2 separate regions of the Homo sapiens genome follow, and region 1 is linked to region 2. Evidence: promoter capture Hi-C in 16 types of primary human blood cells and fetal thymus (Javierre and others, 2016). All regions are on one chromosome and are shown on one strand. The core of a region is centred on a gene start or on the middle of the fragment in contact, and the rest is flanking DNA. Distances in the headings are between cores, read along the strand shown. Region 1 has its middle 4.7 kb from the start of C8orf88. Region 2 holds the start of RAD54B (RAD54 homolog B).

Evidence for each region. The method cuts DNA at HindIII sites, captures the fragments that hold promoters and counts their contacts. A CHiCAGO score of 5 or more calls a contact.
Region 1: a fragment that was not itself captured here is called in contact with the fragment with the promoter of RAD54B in region 2 in 1 of 17 cell types (monocytes); the score reaches 5.1 in monocytes.

What each region holds. Positions count from the first base shown.
Region 1 is chr8:90,988,391-90,991,515 of GRCh38, forward strand. No RefSeq gene overlaps it. Among named protein-coding and RNA genes, the nearest start is that of C8orf88, 4.7 kb to the left of the region's middle. The HindIII fragment of the contact is 4,553 bases long and covers 1-3,125 here.
Region 2 is chr8:94,473,688-94,476,722 of GRCh38, forward strand. RAD54B (RAD54 homolog B) reads right to left here and starts at 1,428. Exons shown (of 15, transcript NM_012415.3): 1 at 1,314-1,428. RefSeq lists an enhancer at 1,161-1,390. The HindIII fragment of the contact is 4,488 bases long and covers 720-3,035 here.

The sequences.
Region 1 (3,125 bases), core at 569-3,068, 3.5 Mb before region 2:
TCACAGGGGAGGTAATGCCTGAGCAGGATTTTTAAGGATAAAACATTTACCCACTTAGAAAAGGGTATTCCTTGCAGGTGAAAGAACAAGCCCAGAGATATACAGGAATAGAGCAGCAGCCAATAAAATAAAACATCAGTAATTCAGTACTGCAGAAACACAAAATACAAGAGACTGCCTGGTAGTGGCTTGATATTAGGCTAATAAAAGATGAAGTGTCTTTTATCTCCTTTATAAGGATATGGAGAGACACTGAAGGATTTTAGTTTGGGTTTAATAGTATTCTATGACCATTTGGGAAAAAATTACTTAAATGACAACATGAAAAATGGATTGGGAAGCAGAGTAGGCATCAGGCAAGACAAGAAGAGAGGCAGAGGAATCGGTTCAGAGGTTTACAGTAATCCAGGCAATGTTTATTGAGAGCCATAAGTAAAGGTAGATAGTGACCATAAGGAAAGAAAAGTACACATAGCTGAGAGAATAAGGAAAACTGCTAACAGTGTAGAGTGTGAGAGTGGAAAGTGGAAAATAGTGATGCCAGTTATTGACTTGCGCACCCAGAGCGATACAGGAAAAAAATAAAAAGATACTGTGATTTGCCTGAGGAGGCACAAGAGAATGGGATCTAGATTGTAGGTGAAGGGAAGGGACAAAAGCAAGAATAGGTGAAGTAGAGATTATCCAGTATAAGTGGAAGGGGTCTACTGTGGAAAGCAGTAGGACTTTCAAATTTTGAGATAGCATTTCTGGGGAATGTTCACCTGAAAACAGGTGAACACTGTTGAGGAGTCAGCTGAAGGTGAAGATCAGAAATTTATAAAGGCATTTACCTGCGTGGTTGTGAGATTCATTGGCAAATAAAGGAAGGGATGATAAATTGAAAGAATAATAAACCTGAAGTCCTCACAGTGTGAGACTTCCGGACAGAAGAGGTATATTTTCAAAGAGGTGTATTTTCAGACAGTGGGATAACTGAGTGTGAGAGTTGAGATGGAGTGGTTCTGAGTATAACCACCCAGCATGCCGCTGTAGAGGTGAATACCAGAAGTGAAAGGAAAATAAAGGTCATTAGACTTGACGAAGAACTGTGAGTCCAGACTGCAGTATTAGATAAGCCATTCACATTGACATTTAAATCAGTGGCATGTGATAAGAATAAAAACCAGGTACTGAAGTCTGCATTGGTGAGGAGGGAGTTAAAGGAGATCTGTGGATGGCGGATGGTAGGTAGAAGGGAAAGTTTATAAAGGAGTTAGGCAGGTACATAGGAAGAAACCAGAAAAAAAAAACACATGGCCTTACATAAGCTAGGGAATTCTCCACGTTTCCTAAACTCTTTCTTGAGGCTTAATAACTAATAAAAACTTAATGCATTTTGGCCAGGTGCAGTGGCTCACGCCTGTAATCCCAGCACTTTGGGAGGCCGAGATGGACGGATCACGTGGTCAGGAGGGCAGGACCATCCTGGCTAACACAGTGAAACCCCGTCTCTACTAAAAATACAAAAAAATTAGCTGGCCATGGTGGCGAGCGCCTGTAGTCCCAGCTACTCAGGAGGCTGAGGCAGGAGAATGGCATGAACCTGGGAGGCGGAGCTTGCAGTGAGCCGAGATTGCGCCACTGCACTGCAGCCTGGGCAACAGAGTGAGACTCCTTCTTAAAAATGTAAATAAATAAAATAAAATAATTAAAAAAATAAAAAATGTAATGCATTTTCAAGATTATTTAAATGTCCACTATCTTAAGCCAAAGGTATATCTCATGTGGAAATATGAGATACTGAGGCAAGGTTTTTCAGAAAAATTTATTGGAACACTGGGAACTTTTCCATAACTCTGTATATCCTACCATTATTACCTACACCTATCAACAGGCCACCCAGGGCATTCAAAATTTCATAAGAGCAATGTGTGCGATCACTTCCTATTTAATAAGTTACCTTAAATAACTCTTAGTTACAAAATTGAAAAGACTGTTAGATCAAAGACTCTCATTTACTGTATTACAAACTAGACCTACTTCTTAAATCTTTGGCCTGATCTGATCCTTACTCTGTGAGGCCGTCCCCAAAAGAAAACAAATAGGCTCTTTATTTCTCTGTTTTTAATCTAATATTCCACTTCAAGTCAAACATATGCATGTTTAGCAAAATATAAAGAACATAGTATTTATTTAAATGTGTAACTGCATATGTAAAACAAATTTTAAAATTAAAAGCCTGTACAAATTTTTATTAGCATTTTGTGCTAACAAATCATTTTCATAAATATTGCAATTACAAGAAAAAGAAAATACAATTGTTATTTAAAACTCATCGCATGTCAATTTCCTCATATTTAATAGAAAATACTTCTGACTGGGTGCATATGCCTTTAATCCCAGCAGCACTTTGGGAGGCCGAGGCAGGCGGATCGCTTAAGCTCAGGAGTTCCATTCCAGCCTGGGCAACATGGCGAAGCCACTTGTCTACAAATACAGAAAAGAAAAAAAAAAACTATCCGGGCATGGCGGTGCACCTGTAGTCCCGGTTATTCAGGGGGTCAAAGTGGAAGGACTTCTTGAGTCCCAGAGACCGAGACTGTAGTGATCGAGAGGTTGAGTCTGCAGTCAGCCCTGAGATTCTGCTTCTGCACTCCAGCCTGGCTGACAGAGTGAGACCTTTTTTCAAAAAAAAAAAAAGAAAAAAAAAATATTTTTACTTAGCCTTCCTATAATTTTATGCTAATTATAAAAAAGAAAATACATGTAATAATATTTTGCTACATAAATCAAAATGCTCTAAAATTAATGTAGTTGGATATAATATCAAATTCATTAAAAATTTTAAATTATTCTATGCTTTTGAAATGACTATTTTGGGCAAATATTTTCTAATAATTCTCTTTCTACAGATGACCTACAGACAATGAACAGCAGAGGGCACAAAAATCAAAAGTTTTTCACTACAAAGTGAAATAATAAAACCTTATGTAGTGGAAAGCAGACACATTTCAGAAGCAGACAGACTGATTCCATCTGGCTTCCTCACATATAAGCTAAGTGACCTTTAATTATTGAATCTGTCTTAGCCTCTTCAATGGTAGAATAATAACTGTGACAGACTAAATGTTAACATACGTAAG
Region 2 (3,035 bases), core at 178-2,677:
AGAGGTATGTGCAACCATCAAACGTCGAGGATGCAAGAATGTAAGTACACCAACTCTACCAAGAACCAGCAACGGTCTCTCCCTGCTGTTGCTGCTTGTCGACTTCCAACTACATTAGGTAGTAATTATTTCACTTCATGCCTTAAATTGCTCCTTTGAGACTCCGGCTATATAGATGGTTCCTAATTTAGGACGGTGTCACTTAGAATTCTTCGACTTTTAAGAAAGCCATGAGCATTCAGTAGAAACTGTACAAGTAACCACACAACCGTCTGTGTTCATGATTTTGCCCAACTGTAGATTAAGGTAAGTGTTCTGAGCATGTTTAAGGTAGGCTAGCGCAGCCATAAAAAGGAATGAAATCATGTCCTTTGCAGCAACATGGGTGCAGCTGGAGGCTATTATCCAAAGCGAATTAAAGCAGAAACAGAAAATCAAATATTGCATGTTCTCACTTATAAATGGGAGCTAAACATTGGGCATTCATGAACATAAAGATGGCAACAATAGACAGTGGAGACAACTAGAAGGGAGAGGAAAGGAGGAGCAAGGGTTCAAAAACTATTGGGTAACATGCTCACTACCTGGGTGACAGGATCAATCGTATCCAAACCTCAGCACCACGTAATATACCGATGCAACAAACCTGCACATGTACCCCCAAATCTAAAATAAACAGCTGAAAATAATTTTTTTGATAACAAAAGTAGGCTAGGCCAAGCTTTAATACTCAGTAGGTTAGCTGTGTTTTAAATCCATTTTCCATTTGGGATATTTTCAACCCCGTAGTAAGTCGAGAAGCATCTGTTCCTACCTAGAAAATCTTCCATAAGGTAATCGATTAAAAGGTTTTAAGGAAATACAAGAAAAACCTGACCAGTGAAGAGGTAAAAGCCCCTAAAGAAGGCGTACCGACACTCTCCAGGACGCTCGCAGAGCCTTCACCCCCTGGCCCTGGGGAAGGAAATTCCCAGTGCAGGAGTGAGGGAGAGACCCAAAAGCCAAGAGGAGCCTGCGCAAAGCGACCGCAGTGGCGGCCCCAGGGGCCACTGCCCAGAACCATCCCTCCCACACAAACGCACAACCCTAAACCCCCACCGCCCGCCCTTCGCTCCAAGGCCCCCGGGGCCAGCAACCAGGGCGTCCCTGGCACTTCAGACCAAAGCTGCAGGCCCGCAGAAGGCCACTTCGGTCGCTCCTGCCGCCTTCCCTCCCTCCTCCCTCGTTGGCCTGCTCCGGCGCCACTCCCTGCTTTGTCCCGCACGAGCCTACAGGCTGTCGCAGCCTCCCGAGCTTCCCCCTGCAGGACGCACCGGCGAAAATCTGACAGAAACCACTGGCCCTGCAAAGAAGTCCTTCTGGTAACCAGCTATCCCCTCGCCGCCGGAGAAGCTCAAGGATCCCGCCTCGGCGAAGCCAATCGCGGACGAGCCCGCCGCGCGTGCGCACTACCTAGCCGCTGCACTGCCCTGTCCTGCCCTACTCTGATTGGACGACCCTACTGCATCACTGCGCATGTATCTTTGCGTTTGGCTTTAAATGCTTCCAAGTTTGATTCAAGTTTACGGTTCAATTAAAAAAATACTGGTTTAGTGCCTACTTTCAGACACAGTGTAGATGCCGAGGCTACAGACCTCACCATCTGCGTGGATAAGTAATAAATACGGTATGATTCGGTGTGTGCGATAATAGAAATGCGTGCATCGCAGAAGTATACGATATCCTATTGGTTATTCATTCATCCGAAAAAACATTGACTTAGCGGTGCCTGCAGGATAATTTTCAAACTCTTTGTTAGGTTCTGGGAATATAGAAACGAATACGTGATTATTAGGCTCTCAGAAAAGGGGAGCCGCCTCCGGACTTGGAAAAGCATTAAAGCATGTTAAGTAGGAAAGTTACATCATTCAATGAGTATTTACTGAGCACCTTCTAAGTGCTAGGCGGTAACACAGTCAACTATCCCTGAAAAATGGTATTAGAAAGGCTAATCTGAAAGGAGAGAGAATGGCTAAAGGTTGTTTATTGAGTTTTATCCAGCAGTTTGACAAAAAGTAAAAGCTAAAAAATATCAAGGGTGAAATGAAGATGTGAAACAATGGGAACTCTTGGGCTGCTGGTAGGAGTGTAAATAGGTACAGCCATTTAAAAGAGTAATTTGAGGCTGAGAGCGGTGGCTTGTGCCTGTAATCCCAGTACTTTGGGAGGCCGAGGCGGGCGGATCACTTGAGGTCAGGAGTTCGAGACCAGCCTGGCCAACATGGTGAAACCCGGTCTGTACTAAAAATACAAAAATTAGCTGGTTTTGGTGGAGCGCGCCTGTAATCCCAGCTACTCAGCAGACTAAGGCGGGAGAATCGCTTGAACCTGGGAGGTGAAGGCTGCAATGAACCGAGATGGTGCCGCAGCACTCCAGCCTGGGCAGCAGAGAGACCCTGTTTCAAAAAAAAAGAGTAATGTGCTTAAGGAGCTTTTATCCTGGGGACTTTTTCCAGTCATAAAGAGCACCTCATAGGTTGAGTTGTGCTTTTGGCAGCTCCTGGAGCCAGCGTTACAAGAATTTGAAATGGGGACCTGCCAAGGTTGGGCACCTTAGTAAACCGCACCCCCCTCTTCTTTGGACTGGGACACATAAAGAGTAAGGGTAACCAGAAAACAAGCTAGCTTCATAGTGTCTGCAGCCTACCTTAATATCATCTGGGGAGTTCAGAAAATCTAAAACAGATTGGCTAAAGGTGACCTGGGACATTCCTCTTGCAGATTTGCATCTGGTTTGATCCTTCACTTCAGATCATTACTCACATATCAACTTGTCAAAGGGCTTTATCTGACAGTGCATTGCTCTCTTGTCTCATCTTGTATCTCCCTTACCCTGCTTTATAGAGTTCATCACACTTTCCATTCCCTAACATATACTTATTTGTTAATTGTTTTTCTATTACTCTCAGAATATAAGCTACATGAGGGCAGGATCTTTGCTTTATTCTCTGCTGTACCCATGTGTTTAGAATAGTACTAGTCTTTTTTGTTTTGTT